Linked DNA regions of Homo sapiens: region 2 is linked to region 1. The links are contacts of gene promoters, found by promoter capture Hi-C in blood cells and fetal thymus (Javierre and others, 2016). All regions are on one chromosome and are shown on one strand. Each heading gives the region's core, a stretch centred on a gene start or on the middle of the fragment in contact. The rest is flanking DNA. Distances are from core to core; before and after follow the strand shown. Region 1 holds the start of MCM6 (minichromosome maintenance complex component 6). Region 2 has its middle 240 kb from the start of CXCR4.

The links. Contacts are between HindIII fragments. The CHiCAGO score rates a contact against its expected background, and 5 or more counts as called.
Region 2: a fragment that was not itself captured here is called in contact with the fragment with the promoter of MCM6 in region 1 in 1 of 17 cell types (neutrophils); the score reaches 6.8 in neutrophils.

What each region holds. Positions count from the first base shown.
Region 1 is chr2:135,874,129-135,878,822 of GRCh38, forward strand. It overlaps MCM6 (minichromosome maintenance complex component 6), which reads right to left and starts at 2,315. Exons shown (of 17, transcript NM_005915.6): 1 at 2,131-2,315. The coding sequence starts at 2,237. RefSeq lists enhancers at 1,405-1,940, 1,710-1,839, 2,530-2,589 and a silencer at 1,910-2,069. The HindIII fragment of the contact is 12,304 bases long and covers 1-4,694 here.
Region 2 is chr2:136,357,018-136,361,711 of GRCh38, forward strand. No RefSeq gene overlaps it. Among named protein-coding and RNA genes, the nearest start is that of CXCR4, 240 kb to the left of the region's middle. The HindIII fragment of the contact is 983 bases long and covers 2,154-3,136 here.

The DNA.
Region 1 (4,694 bases), core at 1,065-3,564:
TTTGTCTCATCATTATCATCTAGCTGCAAAGTCAAGGCACTTAGATTATTTGTTGAAATGAAACGTTTATTGAAAAACCTTTGTAATGTGATGTGGTGGGTAGGTGGGGTTGAGGATGGAATTTGAATTCCAGACTAAGTAGCTAGGAGGTAAATGTGTTACACTGCCAGAGATAATGAAAAACAAACAGCACCCTGGGAGCCTAAGGAAGAAAGGATTAGTGCCTCTCAAAAAGGTGTACAAGGTTTCACAAAGGTGTGAGTTTTTAGCTGGGCTTTGAAGGAGGAACTATCAGGCAGACAATAACATTGCCATAGGTAGTGAAATGGAAATTAAATTATGGTTTTAAGTATACCAAAATTTCCTAAGAAGGCAGCATTATTCACAATAGCCAAAAGGTGGAATGAACCTCATTATTCACAATAGACAAAAGGTGGAATGAACCTGTGTCCACTGAATGGATAAGCAAAATGCAGTATATATACAGGTTGAGCAGCCCTCATCTGAAAATTTAAAATATGAAATGGTCCAAAATCTGAAACTTTTTGAGTGCTGACATGATTTTCACTGGAGCATTTCAAATTAGGGATGCAATTGGTTAAGTATAATGTAAACATTCCAAATCTGAAAAAAAAATCCAAGATCCCAAACTCTTCTGGTCCCAAGCGTTTCAGAAAAGGGATACTCAATGTGTACAGACAATGTTATTTAGCCTTAAAAAGTAAGGAAATTCTGACACATGCTACCTCGCAGAGGAACCTTGTAGACATTATGTTACACAAGCCAGACACAAAAGGACAAATACTACACGCTTCCACTTATATGAGGTACCTAGAGTGGTCAAACTCATAATGAAAGGAAGCAGAGTGGTGGGTGACGGTGGCTGAGGGAGAGGGTAACGGAGGAGAGTTCGTGTTTAATGGGCACAGAATGTCAGTTTGGAAGATGAAAAGAGTTTGGAGCCGGACACGGTGGCTCACGCCTGTAATCACTTTGGGAAGCCCAGGCGGGGGGATCACCTGAGGTCGGGAGTTCAAGACCAGCCTGACCAACATGGAGAAACCCCATCTCTACTAAAATACCAAATTAGCCGGGCGTGGTGGCGCATGCCTGTAATTCCAGCTAGTAGGGAGGCTGAGGCAGGAGAATAGCTTGAACCCGGGAGACGGAGGTTGCGGTGAGCTGAGATGGTGACACTGCACTCCGGCCTGGGCAACAAGGGCTAAATTACGCCTCAAAAAAAAAAAAGTTTGGAGATGGGAGAGTGGTGACGGCTGCACAACGAGGTGAATGCACTTAGTGCCACTGGACTCTACACTTAAAAATGGCTAAAATGGTCAACTTTGTTATGTATATTTTACTAAAAAAGAACTTCAAAAGCCATTCCAAACTGCTGACCCTTCATCCTGGAGGCCGTGGTGTATCTGCTCCAGGAAAAATAACCGGTGGGTGAGGCAAGCCAGGGAGGAGGTTGGGGTTATGAAGCTAGGAGCCCAGAGGCACAGAAAAAAAGAAGAGTAGAGAAAGGAAAGGAAGGCCAGAGGGAAAGGGGAGCAAGGGACCCAGAAGAAGGGATATGGTGAGCTACTCTCTGCAGGGCAGGGCTCCGCCCCCCAGCAGCTTTCAAACCACAGTTGACGCAGAAACTTTCATCAGCACAAGAGGCGAGGGTGGCCCGTGCCCTGCGAACCCCCAGCACCATGCTCCCGGCTGCGTGGCCCAGCAGGGCACCGACGAGATTCAATGGCACTTCGGCCTCCCACTCGACCTGGCCGCACCCAGCGGCCCAGTTACTATACTCAGCGAGCCCAGGTTTCCGCGCCGGTCACCGAGGGCTGTGCAAATACCAGGCTCGCGGGGTGGTGAGCATCAAGTGACAGAAGCAAAGCGCTGAGCACTGGGCACGAGCGTCTTAGGGCTCGAGATGGGTTTTACTCCAGAAAAACCCAGCCTGTCCCAGGCTCCTCGCGGCCGCCGGGCTCGGAGCCTAAAGTTGGGGGGCGGGCGGGGAGGCGCTTCCCGGACGCGCGACCCCCAGGTTCCGGAACACCCGCCGCCCACACGGCACCGCCTGGCCCAGACGCCGCAGGCTCCGGAGGCGGGCGAGGCCCGGGGCGCTCGCCGACTTACTCCTCCAAGAAGTCCAGGAACAGTTTCTGGCACTTCTCGGCCACCTCGTCGCGGACCTCCAGGTGCTGGCTGCCGGCGCCCGGCTCCGCTGCCGCCGCGAGGTCCATATTTGCTTAGTGCCGAGGATTCGCCTGCGCCACGCTCGACCGCCACAAGTCGCTTTTTTCCAGACGCTGCAGCTTTGCGCGCGCCGCCGCCGCTTCCGCCCCGCCCCCTCTTCCGACCTGCACGGCCGGAACCAATCGTGACACAGGAGCTGGAGATTTCGCGCCAAACCTGACCAATGAACGGCGCCTCTCCAAGAGCCCCAGCCCACGGAAAGGGATTTCGCGCCAAATGCAAAGCCCTTCTGGAGAAAGCCCATCTGCCTTTGCGCCTGCGCAGTGTAGCCGTGGCCCGCGGGTATTTTTGGCTGCTGGAACAAGTTCGAATCTGAGGGTTTTGTCCGAGTGGTTTTTCAAATGTTCTTTAAATCATTCCACTGATATTAATTGAACGATCGGAGTAAGACTCTATGGAAGAGAAAAATGAGTAAGCCGCTTCTGCTGTCTAGTTAGAGGAAATAATGGAAACCACAGTATAAAACCCTGTAAAAGAGTCAAAGAGATGTCTAAACCTTGCATGGGTAAGGTGGCACAATTATTGTGGTGGTGCTGACCGAGGAAAATCAGCGAAATATTTGACATTGGCCGGGCGCGGTGGCTCACAACCTGTAATCCTAGCACTTTGGGAGGCCGAGGCGTGTGGATCACCTGAGGTCAGGAGTTCGAGACCACCCTGGCCAACATGCAGAAACCCCATCTCCCCTAAAAATACAAAAATTAGTCGGGCGTGGTGGTGCACGCCTGTAATCCCAGCTACTCGGGTGGCCGAGGCAGGAGAATCGCTTGAACCTGGGAGGAGGAGGTTGCAGTGGGCCGAGATCGTGTCACTGCACTCCAGCCTGGGCAACACAGTGTGACTCCGTCTCAAAAAAAAAAAAAAAAAAAAGAAAGAAAAAGAAAAAGAAAGAAATATTTGACACTTTGATTAATCTTTTTTTCTTTTTCTTTTCTTTTTTTTTTCAGATGAAGTCTCACCCAGTCGCTCAGGCTCGAGAGCAGTGGCGCGATCTCGGGTCACTGCAACCTCCAGCTCCCGGGTCCAGGGGATTCTCCTGCCTCAGCCTCCTGAATAGCTGGGATTGTAGGCGCCCGCTACCATGCCCAGCCAATTTTTGTATTTTTAGTAGAGACAGGGTTTTCGCCATGTTGGCCAGGCTGCTCTCAAACTCCTGACCTCAGGTGATCCGTCTGCCTCGACCTCCCAAAGCGCTGGGATTACGGCCGTGAGCCACAGCGCCCGGCCTTAATACCCTTCTTAAAATGCACTATTGGCTTGAGTTATCCTTATGTTTTTTTCCCCCATCTTTCCCTAACCATTTCACTTGGTTTTTCTGCCATCTCTTTGGCCATTCCTGATTAGCATCCTTTGTAGGCGCCTCTCCTTCAGTGAGTCTTTTAAATGTTCTGGTTCCAGAGCCTTCTTTTCCCGTAAAGTCGCTCTCTTGGGCGACCCTTTACACTCCCTTGGCGTTAATTAACATCTGGGTACTGATGATATCTATATGTGTATTTCACCAACCAGTACCTTTTTTTGGCCTCCAAGACATTAAGAGAAACGGGGACCACTTCCATTTTTTGAGGCTTGTTGCATATTAAAAATATTTTTTCTTTCTTTTCTTTTTTTGAGACGAGGTCTTACTATGTTGTGCAGGCTGACCTTGAACACCTGGTCTCCAGCAATCTGCCTGCATCCGCCTCCCGAGTAGCTGGGATTTCCTGCCACCACCAAATCCAACTTATTGAAAAATTTTTTCTTTTTCTTTTTTTTCTTTCTTTTCTTTCTTTCTTTCTTTCTTTTTTTTTTGGAGACAGAGTCTCGCTCTGTCATTAGGCTGGAGTGCAGTGGCAGGATCTCGGATCACTGCAGCCTCTGCCTCCCAGGTTCAAGCAATTCTTCTGCCTCAGCCTCCTGAGTAGCTGGGACTACAGGCGCACACCGCCACGCCCGGCTGATTTTTTTTGTTTTTGTTTTTTTGTTTTTGTATGTTAGTATAGACGGGGTTTCACCATGTTGCCCAGGCTGGTCTCAAACTCCTGAGCTCAGGCAATTCGCCCACCTCGGCCTCCCAAAGTGCTAGGATTACAGGCGTGAGCTACCGCGCCCGGCCTGAAAAGATTTTAAAATGCCAAACAGAGTGGACAGAAGCTCAAGTAATTATTTTAACATACGTACAAATACACTATTCACAAGATATTTACAGAGTTTAACAAAAAAGCTCAATGCTGGCGTGTTGCAGTGTATCTGTAATCGTATGTATTACCTCATTTGAAAATGAACACTCGGCCGGGCACGGTGGCTCACGCCTGTAATCCCAGCACCTTGGGAGGCCGAGATGAGCGGATCACGAGGTCAGGAGATCAAGACCATCCTGGTTAACACGGCGAAACCCCATCTCTACTAAAAATACAAAAAAATTAGCCAGGCATGGTGGGGGGCGCCTGTAGTCCCAGCTACTCGGA
Region 2 (4,694 bases), core at 1,395-3,894, 480 kb after region 1:
GCTCACTTATCTGCACAAACCTTTCCAGAAAGAGCCCAATCTGTGAGAATCATTTCCCCCATCCCTTTGCTGTTTGAAGCTCAATCTGCTTTCTCTCCCGGGCTCACTAACATACTTAAACCCTGGAACTGCTAATGAGATCAGAAAGTGATCAGCTGTCAGTTCCCAAGTGAAATTGATCAGCAATTGTCTCAGGCTAAGGAAAGAAAATGCTTCCCATGACAGCCTGCAGATTTCTCTGATCCTATTTGTGCTCCTCTTTATCATCTATGAAATTTATTTTAGGGGCTATTGCCTCTACAAGATTATCTGCAGAGCCTCATGGCAGGTGCTGTCCACATGTCCACTTTAGAAAGCCCAGAGCAACTATTATCAAAAACCAAGCTCAGGGATGAAGGCACAACAGTCAGAGTTTGTTGCAGCTGTGATTTGTTTAAGAACTAAATACTCCTGGCCAGGTGCTATGGCTCACACCTGTAATTCCAGCCCTTTGGGAGGCTGAGGTGGGCGGATCACCTGAGGTCAGGAGTTTGAGACTAGCCTGGCCAACCAACATGGTGAAACCTCATCTCTACTAAAAATAAAAAATTAGCTGGGCATGGTGGCATGTGCCTGTAGTCCCTGCTTCTCAGGAGACTGAGGCAGGAGAATCACTTGAACCTTTTTTTTTTTTTGAGACAGTCTCACTCTGTCCCCCAAGCTGGAGTGCAGTGGTGCTATTTTGGCTAACTGCAAACTTAGCCTCCCAGGTTCAAGTGATTCTCATGCCTCAGCCTCCTAAGTAGCTTGGATTACAGGTATGTGCCATCACACTGGGCTAATTTTTGTATTTTTTACTAGAGATGGGGTTTCACCATGTTGGCCAGGCTGGTCTCGAACTCCTTGTCTCAAATGATCCACCTGCCTGGGTCTCCCAAAGTGCTGGGATTATAGGTGTGAGCCATGGGGCCCAGCCAAAACTAACCATTTTAAAGCATGCAATTTAATGGCATTTAGTACAGTCAGAATGTTGCTCAGCCATCATCTCTCTAGTTCCAAAACATTTTCCTCACTTCCAAAAAAGATTTTGTCCCCATGAAATAGTCACTCCCCATTCCTTTCACTGAGCATAAGGTTGTCAAGTTTCATTCATGTTTCAGAACTTTATTCCTTTTTGAGCTAAACGATATTCCATGGTAAGGACCTACCACATTTTGTTTATCCATTCATCTGGTGATGGACATTGGATTGTTTCCACTTTTTGGCTAGTAGAAGGAATGCTGCCATGAACATTTGTGCAGAAGTTTCTATCTGGACGTTTTTCATTTTTCTTGGATATATACCTAGGGGTGGAATTTCTGGGTCCTGTGGTGACTCTAGGTTTAACTTTTTGAGAAACTGCCACTATTTTCCAAAGGGGCTGCACCATTTTCCATTCTCACCAGCAGTATATGGGGGTTCGTCGTCCACATCCTCTCAATGCTTATTATTGTCTGTCTTTTTATTGTAGCCATCTTAGTGGGTGTGAAGTGGCAGTCCTCTCATTTTGAGAATGAATAAGCTGAGGGCAGAGAGGAGCTGTGACCTGTTTAGCATCATTGTCTGTCAGTCTCTGGACAGCAAATCTCTGTAACTCCCAATCTGATGCATGTTCCCATCAGAACAGGCATCCTTTCTCAACATTGAGAAAGGAGCAAAGGCAGAGCAGGAAGTGAGGCTGCAATGAAGCCAGGCTTCCCCCACCAGCTATTATGATAGAACTCAATGGCTCACCATGAGTGGAGGATGGCAGCAGTGGGCCTCGGGGGAGGGGGTTCCCACCCAGTGGGCAGTCTGGCTGGGGTTTGCCCAGGCCCTTGCAGGCCTCACTTTACTTTCTAAACTTTTCTTTGATGGCAGAGAGCTTCAACAATGACATAAATTGGCTTCACCTACACATGATTGAGAACCTATTCAAAACTAGTCATAGTTTTACACGTTGGAGCCAAGATAGGAGGTAAATAAAATGGGGCTGAAATTCAACATACAAATGTATAGTCTCAATATGATTCTGTCAAGTGTTGACAACAGAAGGTAGAAGTAGGGCACAAAGGGAACACAGACAAGGGGCTCCAACCCATTCTGGAAAAGTGGAGCAGGAGCTGAAGGTTGAAGGCCTTAAAGTGATGGTGGGAAGCTTGCCAGGCTTGCTCTGCAGACAGAGGTGGGTGAAGTATACAAGCAACTTCCCTGGGAAGGGAGGGAATGGCTTTGAAAGTCAAGTAGCAAGTCCAACAGCCCAAGGCTGCAGTGCCTTGGTGGGTCTCAACAGAGCTTTGCACAGCTGAAAAAGCATTCCTAGCAATGGGCCTATCAGCTTTATATGTGCCGGACCTATAAGCAACCCAACACATAGAATGCAAGCTGAGGACTTTTGGACAAGTGCTAAGAGGTGGAGTGAGAAAGGCGAGCATGGACTAGCTGAGAAAATAACCCTCACAGCCACGAATCAAGCTCTGTGCTTGAATGTGTACCTTATGGAAAGTATGAGGTATCAGGCTGGCTTTGTTGGTAACTCCTCCCCGACATGCAGCATGACTATTTTTCAGTTATGAAGGAAATATTATATCCCAAACAGCCCTACAAATAAAGCCTACTTTGATTCATCTTTTCCATCTTGGTTTGCATAATGCACCATTTTTTTTTTTTAAACATCAGTGTGGTTTCTGCCCAGGTGGGCCTCAGCAAATTGTGAAATAGCTGAGGTTTCTTCCTCAGACCATGTAAGGCTATTATAACTCCACCTCCTCCTGATATACTGTGGAGAGTGATGTATACAGGTGTAATGTGCCCTAGGTGCTGTTACTGTAAAGTTGAATACATTTTTTATTTTAAACCTTGGTTTTAAACTCTTTACTCTTGCAAGTTGTGTTTCCAGTGCTTTGTGCTGGTAGAGATATCTGCTGAGTTCGCTTTGAGGGTCTTTTATATGAAAATCTAAGATCGGTTGACTAGTGACCTTGGCATGCAAACATGAATGTTTGCAGCAAATTTCAGCTGATATTCAAAGTTATTTCTAGTGTAAGAATTCTGGCAGGCTCTAGAATTTATACCTAGGAACATGTAGGAATGGTAATTTTTGAGTTATAAGAGGGTGAGAGAGTAGGAACCTGTCTAAAGCTTTTAAAATAAATTGGTTAGATTATATATTACCAATTGATAAAGAAATATTTCTTAAGACATTTAGTCACATTTTAAGTAGGTGAGGAGATGGTAATTGTTCATATCACAGAATGTTATTTTTAAAAATTGGGATTGCTAGGTGGGTGCCCCAGGTCTCTAAACTAGTGGTCCCTAACCTTTTTGGCACCAGGGACCAGTTTCATGGAAGAAAATTTTTCCATGGACCCAGGGAGGGGGGATGGTTTCAGGATGATTCAAGGGCATTACATTTATTGTGCTTTCTTTTCTTTTCTTTTTTTTTTTCTTTTCTTTCTTTTTTTTTGAGACAGGGTCTCTCTCTGTCACCCAGGCTGGAGTGCAGCCAATCTCGAGATTGCACCAACCTCCACTCACTGCAACCTCTGCTTCCCAGGTTCAAGCAATTCTTCCACTTCAGACTCCCACATAGCTGGGACCACAGGCATGCACCACTATGCCCAGTGAATTTTTGTATTTTTAGTAGAGACGGGGTTTCACCCCATTGGCCAGGCTGGTCTCAAACTCCTGACCTCAAGTGATCTGCCTGCCGTGGCCTCCCAAAGTGCTGGGATTGCAGGCGTGAGCCACTGCGCCTGGCCTGTGTAAATGAAATAATTATACAACTCACCATCAGGTAGAATCAGTGGGAGCCCTAAGCTTGTTTTCCTGCAACTAGATGGTCCTGTCTAGGGGTAATGGGAGACAATGACAGATCAGCAGGCCTTAGATTCTCATGAGGAAAGCACAACCTAGATCCCTCGCATGTGCAGCTTTGCGCTCTATGAGAATCTAATGCCACCTGTGATCTGACAGGAGGCAGGGCTCAGGCAGTAGTGCTTGCTCACTGGCCACTCACCTCTTCCTGTGTGGCCCGGTTCCTAACAGGTCACGAACCGGTACCGGTCTGTGGCCTGGGGTTTGAAAACCCCTGCTCTAAACCATCCATAGCACCACAGTTGTGGAAGAAGAAACATTCTTTCTCCTTTAGAGAATGAATATGACTTTCTTCTGGCTTGGAAGTAAGGCCTACTCTCTAGCCTGTTAGAATATAGACATATAGTATGAACCCTGTCTTCCTCTTTTTTCTTCCACAGATTGTGGAAGGGTTCTAGAGAGGGCACAGGCATCTTCATTTCTCTTATTGGTGCTAGGTCCTGGGCAGCATCTGGCAAAGCCTGGAGGGAGGGCTGAGAGAAGCCTGAGGGATATGGTAGGTCAGGAAGGAGAATTTCCAGGGCTGCATTTTTGGGGCACTCCTGGAGTGAGGGTGAGAAATGAGGGAGTTTTGGAATTTGATGTCTCACCTTCCCTTCTTCCTTCTCTCTCTCCATCCATTCCTTCCCTCAACAACTTTTTAAATGAGCACCTACTACATGTCAGAGAGTCTATGCTATTGGTGTGTGAGAGAGGCATGAGCCAGGGTTCCCGTGCTCCCAGAGCCTGTGGTGGATCCAGTGGAGGATGTGACATGTGTTCTCGGGGAGAGTATGCAGAGGATGAGTCTCACCCATTGATTTCAGGCAGTGTGGGTGGTT